Regions from separate parts of the Homo sapiens genome. Here region 2 is linked to region 1. The links are contacts of gene promoters, found by promoter capture Hi-C in blood cells and fetal thymus (Javierre and others, 2016). All regions are on one chromosome and are shown on one strand. The core of a region is centred on a gene start or on the middle of the fragment in contact, and the rest is flanking DNA. Distances in the headings are between cores, read along the strand shown.

Region 1 (6,047 bases), core at 1,808-4,307:
CAACTGGAATTTCCCTCTGGGTTCTTTGGATTAAATTCCTGGGCGAGTGAGAAAAAAAAATAATCTCTGCTTCTGTTTGGGCAGTGCCTTATAAGTGACAGGCCACCAGGCAGTCTGTTGATGGGCTTACCTTGGTCAGATGTCCACTATGGCTCCGATCAACATAGGTTCTAAAGTGACGTCATATGATACAAGGACAGCACCCCAAATTATGTTTGGTTCAGGTGCCTCTGCTCCAGTTTTGTGTATGAAGCCCACAAAACCCCCAATCCTTAAGACAAGTGCCGTATAATTCCAACAATCACAATATTTCAAAGTACCATCAATGGATAGATGCCACTTGTAATACTGACACTATTTGGAAGATCTTATTGCTTTGAATCATTTAAAACAAAAAACAAAAAAAACTAAGCTCAAGAGAGCAGTGTAGTGTAGTGGAAAGAACATAGACTTTGGAGCCACACAGCCCTAAGGCTGAATTTCTAATTAGCCTTTCACTCTCTGTGATAGCAGACTTTACTCATCATTTTTGAGCTTGAGTTCCCTCATTTCTAAAATGCGGATAAACATTCTTATTTATAAATGTGGCGATAAGTAGAATTACATTTTTTAAGGTTTGTGATAAAAGGTGTTTGATAAATAAAAATTCCTTTTCAACTAAAACTTAATATTTACAAATATATTCAGTGTTTCAAAAGATATAGAGTACCTGTACCTACTGTGGAGCAGGCACTGTTAGGGGATGGGTATATAATAATAAGACAGTTCTTTTCAAGGACTTTACAATTTACTCTAATTATTCAAAAAATAAGTCCACTAACTAAGAGATATATCCAACTCAGTCAATCCAAATTATTTGCAAGAAATCATACTAGGCAATGGGGGATGGTGGTGGTGTGAGGGAGAATCCAAAAATGAATAAAGATAGTCATTCTATGTAAGTAGGAACCTACTCTAATTGGACATGAGATGTGCATTTTACACTGAAATTTACAGTTTCCTTGCCAATAGCTTCAATGAGGCAGAAACACAGTTTTCAACTTTTAGAAAGCAGTTTCTCAGTTATCTTAGCTGCTCAATGGTCTGGTTACATTTATCCTAAATTCAACAACCAAATAGTTGGAGACTTTATTAAATTAAAAGCTCCTAGTACAGCGTTGCAAGCAGTAGGTTTTCAAAATTTGTCAGGTTACTCATTTCTTTACCTACACCACTTTTTTTCTACTTCCTTTCCTTTATTCTATATAATGTGGAGTTCCCATACTAAGTATTTTTTTCCAAACTTTCTACTAGGAAGCCTCATTTGCTATTATTGAGGTTATCTTTTTCCCTTTAATTCCACTGATTTGTAATCTTACCTCTTATTTTATTTTTCTTGAGACAAAAAAAAAAAAAAGTGCAGGGCAGTGGCACAATCATGGCTCTCTGCAACCTCTACCTCTTAGGCTGAAACAATCCTCCCAGCAGCCTGTGTAGTAGTTGGCACCACAGGCGAGCGCCACTAGGCCCGGCTAATTTTTGTATTTTTTGTAGAGACGGGGTTTCCCCATGTTGGCCAGGCTGGTCTGGAACTCCTGACCTCAGCGATCTGCTGGCCTGGGCCAAAGCACTGGGATTACAGGCATGAGCCATGGCACCTGGCCAACTCTTATTTCTGAATTATGTTTGAATCCTTTCTTTTTCTCATTTTACATTACGTTCCTATCACTTTTTAAAATCCAAGATAAATATTTTAAAGCAAAAACAACTATTATTTTAAATATTTGTTATTTTCAGATATTAGGACTACTGTTAGAATGCTGGCTTGACCCAAAATAAGGTCTGTTCTTAAAAGGACTCTTTCAAAACAGATGACTCATCAGTTTTAAAAAGCATTCCACCATTAGCTTAAACATACAAAGTACGTCCTTCTAGGACTACCACTCAATCAGAAATTAAAGTTTGACTGCAGAGTAAAGGCATAGTTTCTCATACAAATAAATGACTGGCAAGAAAAAAACGACTTTCCTTTTTTAAGGAGGAAAGCAATTTAATGTCGTTGATTATACACGACCACTTAACTTTCTTATGTATAAGCTTTGTTAAAAAAAAAAAAAGCTAAGCATTTTTTCTCATTTCTATTCATTACTTTTCAAAATCATAAAATGTAATTTCAGAAAAGATTGAGTTTGGGACAAGGATGAAAAATACGTTAATTAGAATTACTAAATTAGTACCAGATCAGGATTTTCCCAAACTGTAGTTTTGACCTGCAGTACAAACTCTATGCTTTGAGTTTTTAAACTAACTCATTAATTTGAGCTATCTCAAATCATGCAACCGCCTCCATATCTCCCAAATTCACTCCTAGACACAACTTACACCAAAAGCCACGTATGTGCTTCTACAATTAAAACGGGCAAAACGTCCTTACTTGATACACATTTCTGCCTTAAAAAAGAAAAAAATAATTCTGTGGGGCAAGTAGTGCGGGTGTTACCCATATTTTATGCATGGGGCAACTGAAATCAAATCCCTGCCCTAGGCTATTTAACAGCGGAACCTCCAGTAAGGGTCCGGGGGTTCTGAGGTCTAGTCCAGCTGCGTTCACATTTCGAGGTCGGCTTTGTTAATCCTCGGACTTTAAATTCCTGCGGTTTTCTGTCATGGAGCTAAATCACCACTAAATTACTGTGTGCTCACAGAGTCCTGCAGACACGGGCCCCACTTTTAAACTGAAAAACAAGCGGGGGACGGGGGGGGCACGTGACGCGCGAACCCTCAAGGCGAGATAACCGAACATCCTTGGGCTGTTTGCCGAGGCAGTCTTGTAGCCCTGGAATAGGTCACCAGGCTCCAGCGACTATAAAGCGCGGCCGCCGAAACCCGGTCCGGCTCAGATGACAATTTGGCAGCCTCTGGGTGTCTGCCTCAGTTCTGCGCAGCCCATGCTGCGCTCTTGCCACTCCGCGCCCCGCGCCTCGTGAGGCAGAGCCCGCCCCGGAGCGGCGCGCGCACCCCAGGACTCGCGTCGCGTGACTCGGCCAAGGCGCGCAGGGTTTGCGCCCGCCCGCGCCACTTCCGACTCAGCCCTCGGTTCAGGTTCCGGGGCGCCGCAGAGCTCCCGGCCTCTGGACCGCGCGCGGCGCTCTGGGGAATCCGGCGCCACGCGCCGTGCGGTGGCCAGGATGGAGGAGGCCGGAGCAGCGGTGGTCACGGCCGGGGAGGCCGAACTGAACTGGTCCCGCCTCAGCGTGTCCACCGAGACGCTGGAGTCTGAGCTGGAGGCGCGGGGGGAGGAGCGGCGCGGGGCGCGGGAGGCGCTGCTGCGGCTGCTGCTGCCTCACAACCGTCTGGTGTCGCTGCCACGGGCGCTGGGCAGCGGCTTCCCGCACCTCCAGCTGCTGGACGTGAGCGGCAACGCGTTGACCGCGCTCGGGCCGGAGCTGCTCGCTCTGCGCGGCCTGCGCACGCTGCTGGCCAAGAACAACCGGCTCGGCGGGCCCAGTGCGCTGCCCAAGGGCCTGGCCCAGTCGCCGCTCTGCCGCAGCCTCCAGGTGCTCAACCTCAGCGGCAACTGTTTCCAGGAGGTGCCTGCCTCGCTCTTAGAGCTGCGCGCGCTGCAGACCCTGAGCCTGGGCGGCAACCAACTGCAGAGCATCCCGGCTGAGATCGAGAACTTGCAGAGGTGAGCGGGTGTGTGCCGGAGGGTGGGGAGGCCTCGGGCGGTGTCCGGGAACCCTGGGGCGCCGGGCCTGGGCACCTCAACGTTTGTCACGTAACTATTTCCAAGCTTTCTCTTTAACTGTGCGGTAGTGAGTTCTGCCCAACCATCTCAGCAAGTTGTTGTAAATACCTAGTATGTTCGCATGTGTGACTGTTTGGTGTGTTGTGTTTGGCCTATGCAGATTCTCGAGGCATTTTTTCTGTCTTCCTTATTGAATCTGGGGCGTGATCCAAACTGAGTGGAAACTCAAAACAGATGTAAATCAGAGGTTGTCACTTCTTTGCTCAAAAGTCTTCCGTGGATTTCCATCTCTATAGATCAAAGTACGTGCCTTTGAGCGTGGCGTACAAGGTGCTCTGATCTAACCCTTGCTTTCCACTACATTTGCAGCTTCCTCTTCTCTGTGGCAGTACCAACTACCATTTGTGGAGTTCAGTGACCTATGCATTTTCCCACGTAGAGAAAGCAGCTTGGAGTTGCTGGTAGGCACTCAGTATGTGTTGAATGGATGCAGTGCCTCTGTACACGTGCTGTTTCCCTTGCTTGGAATGTTTCCTTCACCTGGCAAACGCCTATCATCCTTCAAAAGCTATCTCAAGTTAATCATCTCTGTGATTCCTTTTTTACTACTCCCTGCACAACAATTTTTTTCGTTACTACTCCCTGCACAAAAAAGTACAGCCTATGCTGTACTTTCTCTGTGCTTCATTCATCTTGCCTTTGCATTTACCTTATTGGATATGATTCCTTGTTTACAGGAATTATCTGCTTCACCTACTAGATTATGCAGTAAATATGTTAAATTTAACTTTAGGAGGAAGCAGAGAAACAGGATAATAAAAGTGCCCGGTGGGGGAGTGGGAAATAGAGCCAAATGTATTGTACAAAACGAAAAAGAGGTATCTTCCATCTGTAAGATATTTTCACACTTTATTGTATTTTCAGAGATAACAGAACGTTAAAGGTAGAAGGGACCTCAGAGTTAAGTGGAGCAAAAGAATATTGGCCTGGGAAGGCCGGGCGCGGTGGCTCACGCCTGTAATCCCAGCACTTTGGGAGGCCAAGGCAGGTGGATCATGAGGTCAGGAGATCGAGACCATCCTGGCTAACAAGGTGAAACCCCGTCTCTACTAAAAATACAAAAAATTAGCCGGGCGCGGTGGCGGGCGCCTGTAGTCCCAGCTACTCGGGAGGCTGAGGCAGGAGAATGGCGTGAACCCGGGAAGCGGAGCTTGCAGTGAGCCGAGATTGCGCCACTGCAGTCCGCAGTCCGGCCTGGGCGACAGAGCGAGACTCTGTCTCAAAAAAAAAAAAAAAAAAAAAAAGAATATTGGCCTGGGAAAAAAGAACTCTTGGTGCTCCAGCCTTAGGCAAGTCACTTGTATCCTAACTGTAGCGTATCCTAACTGTAGCTTTCTAATCTACAAATGAAGCATTTGGGCAAGATGTCTCTTCATTTACTCTTCAATAGATATTTATTGAATACCTGCCCTGTGTCAGGCACTGTCCCAAGTATTGGGGATACAATGGTGAACATGATCCAGGAGACAGACATTAAACAACTAACTATGAACCTCATTATTTAATTACAGTGGTTATGAGTTCTATGAAGACCTACAGAATGCCTTGAGACAAAATGACAGAGGCACATGGGAAAGCCCAGAGGCAAGGAGGGTAACTACTAAAATTCTGAAAGAAGGACATTGTACTGGGAAGTGAGCAAGAGGGAAAGTGGCAAATATAAATTTGGGCAAGTCAGCCCGTGTCAGGTCTTGAAGGCTATGATAAAGTTTGGATTTTATTCTAAGTGCACATGAGAGAGTTTTAAGCATGTGTCTTGTTGCTATGCAAGAATGGAGTGAGGAGAGGGTGAAGAGATAGAGATTTTGAGGGCTGGTTTGAAGGAGGTCATTGTAATAGGATGAGAGATGATGGTAGCCTATACCAGCTTGATACTAGGAGAAATGCTAAGAAATGGAAGATTTCGAGAAAAGATTTAGAGGTAAAATTGACAGCCCTTGGTTCCTTCTAATTTTAATGTTGCATAATTCCAGCCTTGGAATTTTCTTAATATACTAACAGGAACCCAGGGAAAGTATTATTTCCATCACATGGGGAGAAAAGTAGGCAAAAATCCCATTTATTTAATACTTACAATGCAGTAGATCCTGTCATAGGTGCTAACTATGCTTTTTAATACTCACAATGATGCCATAAGATGATGTGCTCCCATTTTTCAGAGGCAGAAACTGAAGCTCAGAGAAATTAAGTCATAAGATTACAAGGCTAGTAAGCATTGGAACTGTATTTGACCTCTGTGGTCTGTGACTCCAAACCCTTG
Region 2 (6,047 bases), core at 1-2,500, 1.1 Mb after region 1:
AGGGCAACACCTGCACATGTAAATCAGGGTGGGAGTGTTTGGTCCTTGCAGGCTTCACGAGATCAATTCCTGACTACCTTGCTGTGAATGGCACAACTCACACAATAATGTAGCTTTACATACAACTTCGGAAGTATATAGGCGGTGAAGACGCTTGCTTCAGAAATGTCCCTGACAGCGGTGGCCTCTACTGTGTTTTGGATGAGGAACTTCTTAATAGCCTTGTCCTTGGGCAGGCATTGGGCGCAGATGGTGCAGCGAACAGGCTGCACGTGGCTGCAGCCCTTTTTGGCACAATCGTCGCCCCTTCTTTTCTTTGTCAGCTTGGAAGCTCGGTATCACTTTTTACCAGGGAGTGGGTAAAATAAACAAAGATTGCTCAGAGGAGCAAGAAAATCCTCAGCCATTAAAGTAAAGCCAACCCAGAGGAAGAAGATAATTTTCCCTATAACTCTCTCTTACTTGTCTCTTGGCTCCTGGCCCCAACCATCTCCAAGCTCTAATAGAAGACCCAGAACACTTGGCATATGAAGGAGAGGTAGGAAACAACCATGGGCACATTATGACCTCGCAGAGCTTCACCCACAACCTCCCAACCACAGACAGCAACATGATGTGGTTTTCGTTATACAGCTGCAAGCAAGGGCCTTCTTATTCAGTGGTCAAGAAAAGAAAAAGAAAACTATACTATTTTCAGCAGCAGCAGTAAGGAAGGGATGATCTCCCTTTATTCCAGACAGGAAGAGAAAGTTAGCTGGTTCCCAGGGGAGAGCTGGGGGTTGGGGGCAGCAGCCACTGTGTTGGAGGGGAAGTGCAAGAGGCTCTTGGCAAGTCTGCCAGGAGCCACTTCATGCCATTCTTGAGTGTTCTTACCTGGCTAAGAGTGTTCATTGCTCCCTTCTTACCAAGTTAGAGAAAAGTGGTCAAAGAAGGGGGAAAATTGGTCCTGGATATCAGGCCCCCCTGTGTAGCCAGTGAGGGGTGATCACAGCAGGGTCTGAAATTGGCATCTATGTAGATACCTGCAGAAATTGCATACACGGTGTGTGTGTGTGTGTGTGTGTGTGTGTGTGTGTGTTTCTAAGGAAAGGGTTTCTGTTTCTCATCAGCTTCCCAAAGATTAAGGTTGACAACTGGCCCTGAGCAATGTCTGCCCTAAGCTGAACACCTATTTGTAAACCACACACCCAGCCTTGTCAGGTTTGTCCAGCTGAAAGTAGCAGGGCTGAGCCTCAGCAAATTACAGAAGCATATGACATTCATTCTGTCTTCAGCCTTTGTCTCTCCAAAGTTCCCACTCAAGCATGTGGCGTCCCCATGTTCAGATGCCCTGAGCATAGCTCATCATCACCCCGCTTTGTCCTCCACTCCAACTCAAGGCTTTCCTTCCCTGTCCAAAGACAGGAGCTCTCTTTGCCTCCCTAAATCTTTGGTCTTCTCCCCTTGTACTCCCAAACCTGAACCTATCTTTCCTCTCAATGCAGGTCTACTGCACCACCTTTGACCTTCAAAGTTCAGTAACCATGATGTCAGTCCAGGGAGCCCTTCTCCAGCCCCCTGGCTCCCAGTTACCACACTGACTTGTCACCCTCAGCATTCTGGGCTGATCTTCCAAGGTGGTGGGCAGAGGGCCAGTTCCCAGCTCAGCTTTTCCTCCCAGAAGCAGAGTCCAGGCCTTGTCTATGAATCAATACATGTTTGGGAGAGTCCACAAAGAAGCAACATTACTTTAGAGAAAACCATTAGCACTGACTTTGTTCATTGATGCTACACTATCACAAATACACAGAAAAAAACCATCCAACTAGTTTTAGCTGAGGGAAAAAATAAATTCTAATTACTCTTATTTCCATAAGCAGTATATTATGCATGTCTAATTTCCGTGTAGCACAATAACAGTGTGTGGATCATTAAGTGGGTCAGTTGCGTTTCCTTTCAAAGCTGAACTCTCATCAGGTATGTTCAGTCTTCAAAGTTTGCTGATCCTGTAGCAGGGCTGTCTGCTTTCAATTTAGGGGGAAAATATCATTAGAAGAGAATGTTGGCTTAGACACAGAAGCCAGGGAGGGCAGAGGAACCTAACAGGCCAGGGAGGGCCCTCCGATCCTTCATGATTAGCTGTACAACCTCAGGCAGGCCAATTTACCCCTCTGGGCTTCTTTTCCCCCTCCCCAGGGTGGGGAACCCGGGGTACTGGTTTGCCATTCTTTTAAGCAGTAGTCTCTGTTTTTTTTTGTCTAAATGAAACATATGCAGAAGCCCAAAATATAAAGCAGGTGAAAGAACAGCTGCCTAAAGCTGCCTTTGACATATCTTCATAGAACCCTGGGGTTCTGGCTCATCCTATAATCTATTAGTTTGTAAGAACGAACAGGGCTGGCAAGCACCCCTATGCAACTCTCACAGATTTGAGGGAGGGGCCAGAATAACACCCGCATGGTGAAAGGTGGCATCCCAGGAGCATTCCTAGTGTACCTGGAGGTTAACTTGAAGGCCCCTGCAAAAATAGGTGAAGAGGAACCTTTCATTGTAAACTTCTGACGATAGTGGTTAAGAGGCATACTTGGAGTTTTCTCACACTCAAAAAAACTCAAACCAAGTGATTTTTATCTCAAATCTACCTCTCCAGATGGTTGGTGAGGATTCAATGAAGTGTTAAGTTATGCATCAATTTCAAAAGAGTCAGTTTTGAAACCTGTGGTTCTCCAAGCTCTAAAATCCTAAGCTATTTGTCCTAATGACACAGCAGACTGAACTCTAGAATACCACAGGAATATCACACCACTGCAAATTACTAGGTGGTGCTGAGTCTCCCAAAACACAGAAGTGAAACAAAAGCATTGCACTGTTTTTGAAATGCATATTCGATATGGACTAATCAAATAGGTTTTGAGATTATTTTCCTGGAGGCAGAATTATTCCGCACGGTTACACAGCCCTTAGTTTTCCCCTTTGTTGTATCTATCTATGTATAAACACATGGCCTATATAGTAGGCTATTTTCCTCTCGCTGAAGCTTCTGAAGACAAGGCCTTTTTGTCAAGGGTAAGTGCAAAACCAGTCAACCTTACAAAAGGAGTCATTTAATGCTCAATTTTCCAACTTTCCTATGATTAAACACTTCTAAGCTCAAACGCTGTTATTGTAATCTAGATGGTGTTTTCTTTCCCCCTTCCCCAACAAATGTTTAAATTGTCTCCGCTGGATTCCCCCATCCCCAACTCCCCCCTACCCCCATCTGACCTTGAAAACAGAGAAGTTTTCCTTTTCTCTACTTACCCTAAACTATTTAAAAATGGAGGCCCTCTGACCTTTTTACAACACTCTTCTTGTCTGACACACCAAATGTTAATCTGAAAGCCAAGAGGAGGGAAAAGGTCTTGCAGGGCGGGGAGGGGGTTGTGGAAAGGGGGTGGAGGTACTATATATTTGGCATCAGCTCAGAAATTCAGAAATGTTTGTGCAACCACTCCCCCAGCCAGGATCCTCCCCCACCCCCCACCCGCAACTGCCTTCTAACACATTAATAAAAAAAGATGTGAGCAGACGAAATTGGAGAGCCCAGGAGGGACAGCTAAGGCGGTCATGATTTTGTACCCAGGCAAGACCACTGATCACCATCCCACATGTCCACCCCTCCTCCCTCCCTTCCAACGTGCCAAGTTTAGGATTGGGACCTCTGCAGCTTCCACCCCCATCCCCTGAGGTGGCCCGGTAAACTTGCGGCAGTACCACCCATTAACAGCTTGTGTGAGGCAAACGGAAGGACTGACACAGCAGCCTCTGCGCGTCGGGACAGCAGCGCTGTGCACCTTAAGAATCGTTTATGTTCTTTAAAAAAAAAAAAGAAAAAAAAGTGCAATGAGCGCACAGGCCTGGAATACATTAACTTGTGAACCGACTCTATCACAACTCGAGAGAGTCCGTCTCTCCCTCAAACAAAAAGAAGGTGGGGGCGGGGGAGAAAGGCCAAGGCACATTACCATCCTGTCCCGAGCTTTCCAGATACTCCGTCAGGTCACAGCCAAACGCGCTGGCGGCTCCCTTTCGTTTCAGCTTCTGCTTAGCACCCTTGTTCTTCATGAGTTAGTCCCAAAGAGGCTGCCCCTCCGTCTCTGCCGCCCCTCTGCTTGGCACCGCTGTAAGATGGGCTCCCGGGCTAGATCACCGGCTGCCCCGCGGCTCTGGGGGGCCGCATCGGAAGATGGAAGAACTTGGGCTGGGGGCCCTGCGCATGGACCCCGCGGGCCGCGGGCCGGCAGAGCCTGAGATCCACCCCGCGCCGCTCCGGGGCCGCCGTGCCGAGGCCGTGCAGACTGGCAGCCGCGGGCCGGCTCGCCTGGGAGTGTCACTTCCTCACTTGGAGTCCTAGGGACTTTCACAGGCTCCTGCGGTGTCTTCGGGTGTTTCTCCTCAGCTTAAGAGGGAGGGCAAGCTCTCCCCACCCCTTACTAAGTGCCCCGGAGACGACGCGGACGCGGGGCGAGGAGACTGCCCAGGGGGCTGCGGTGGGTCCTGCGCCCTGGGCCCGCTGTCTCGCCTTCAGACGACTTTGGTAGAGCGAAAAACAAGCATCCTGTCGCTGCTGCCCGCCCTCACGCCTTCCTTTTTTTCCTGTCTTACAAATCCTAGGATCATCCAGCTCAGGAAATGCTGGAAGGAAGTTAGCTAGGGAGGGGGGCGGTGGGTGGAAATTTTTGGCAGCTCGGTGCTTGTGAGTGTGTGGAGCTAGAGGAAGTAGGTGGGTGGGTTGAGGAGCACGGGGTTGGGGTAGAGAACGCGTTCTCCCGAGAGCAGTTCTGCGACTCCAGAGATAACTGGGCAGCCCCGGAGGAAATCGCGCTCTTCTCGCAGGACCCGCAGCCGCAGCCGCCGCTTCCTGCCCCGCCGAGCCGGCTCTTTGAAGTGGCGGGAGGAGGTGCGCTGGCATTCTGCGGGGACCGTGCTGGTTGGGACTTTCAGAACCCTCTGCCCTGGTTTTATCCTCATTGTCATCGTATCTTTGACACTTTCTATTTCGGTGCCCGCCTGTCTGCTACGCAAATACTTAAAGAGTAATGACAGAGACAAACAGGGGACTCCAGCGGAGAAACCTGACAGGCAGTGGCTTCACGCCGGCCACTCCCATCCCAACCTCCTCTGCAGCGTTCGTGCACCCCCACCTCAGCTCACTCCCCTCCCACTCTGGGGTAAAGATACCCCTGGGCAAAGAGAGGCTGCAGCTTTGTAACCACTGCCCAGGAAATCAGATTTCTGGTTACATATTCAAGACACACACACACACTACTGCAAAGTTTTCTAAATGGAAGTGATTTGGGGGGGACAAACCAGGATTTAAGATGCCTCTGACACATGAAATGTGAAGAAAGCAGTCTCCCAGGTTCTTTCATAATTTGTTTCAAGTTGTTTCAAGAGGGCATGTTTTTTTCTTCTCCAGTTAGATTTTAAATTCTTTAACTTCTGTGTACTCAGCACACAGAAAGCACTCAAATTCTTGTGATTTAACCATTTGAGGATTAGATGAAACTTCCTGTATAAATTCAAATCCATATACAGGCTTGAAGGATAGGGGCATATGTCATACAGCTCAGATTGCTGGCAAAGCTGCATCCGTAGCATTTTAGGTACTGAATCCCTTTACAGTCACTGTCTCTCTATGTAACCTTAACAGTCTATGAACTTTGACCCTTGACATTTTCTCTATGTCAGAGGTCACAACTTGATAGCCACCCTGCCAGATCTGGCCCATAGATGTACTTGGCTGGCAGACACCATGCTTTAACACGTTTTAAAATTAGTAGCTAGCATTAAAAAGTTAAGAGATTTCACATAAAATCTGAATTTCTGGCTTCTCTTGAAAAAATGGAAGATCTAGTTACACCACAAGTGCATTCCCATATGGCAAGGACGGCTGATGCTGAGTTGTGGCAGGCCCCTTGGAGGCACCCTCTTTAGAGAGACGACTCTTGCAGTTTTGCAGACCCCACGGCCTGTCTTCCCCCTTTTGCACCTGCCTGGCCTCTGCTGCCACTTGAGTTTGCAGCCCA

The links. The method cuts DNA at HindIII sites, captures the fragments that hold promoters and counts their contacts. A CHiCAGO score of 5 or more calls a contact.
Region 2: a contact is called between a fragment that was not itself captured here and the fragment with the promoter of LRRC58 in region 1, in 1 of 17 cell types (fetal thymus). The highest score is 5.7, in fetal thymus.

Annotation. Positions count from the first base shown.
Region 1 is chr3:120,346,364-120,352,410 of GRCh38, reverse strand. It overlaps LRRC58 (leucine rich repeat containing 58), which reads left to right and starts at 3,057. Exons shown (of 4, transcript NM_001099678.2): 1 at 3,057-3,667. The coding sequence starts at 3,168. It also overlaps the pseudogene BTNL12P. RefSeq lists a silencer at 3,062-3,391 and an enhancer at 3,742-3,791. The HindIII fragment of the contact is 1,696 bases long and covers 2,079-3,774 here.
Region 2 is chr3:119,292,941-119,298,987 of GRCh38, reverse strand. ARHGAP31 (Rho GTPase activating protein 31) reads right to left here and starts at 4,605. Exons shown (of 12, transcript NM_020754.4): 1 at 3,984-4,605. The coding sequence starts at 4,083. It also overlaps the pseudogene RPS26P21. RefSeq lists enhancers at 1,204-1,273, 5,133-5,182 and a silencer at 4,173-4,292. The HindIII fragment of the contact is 3,536 bases long and covers 1-3,018 here.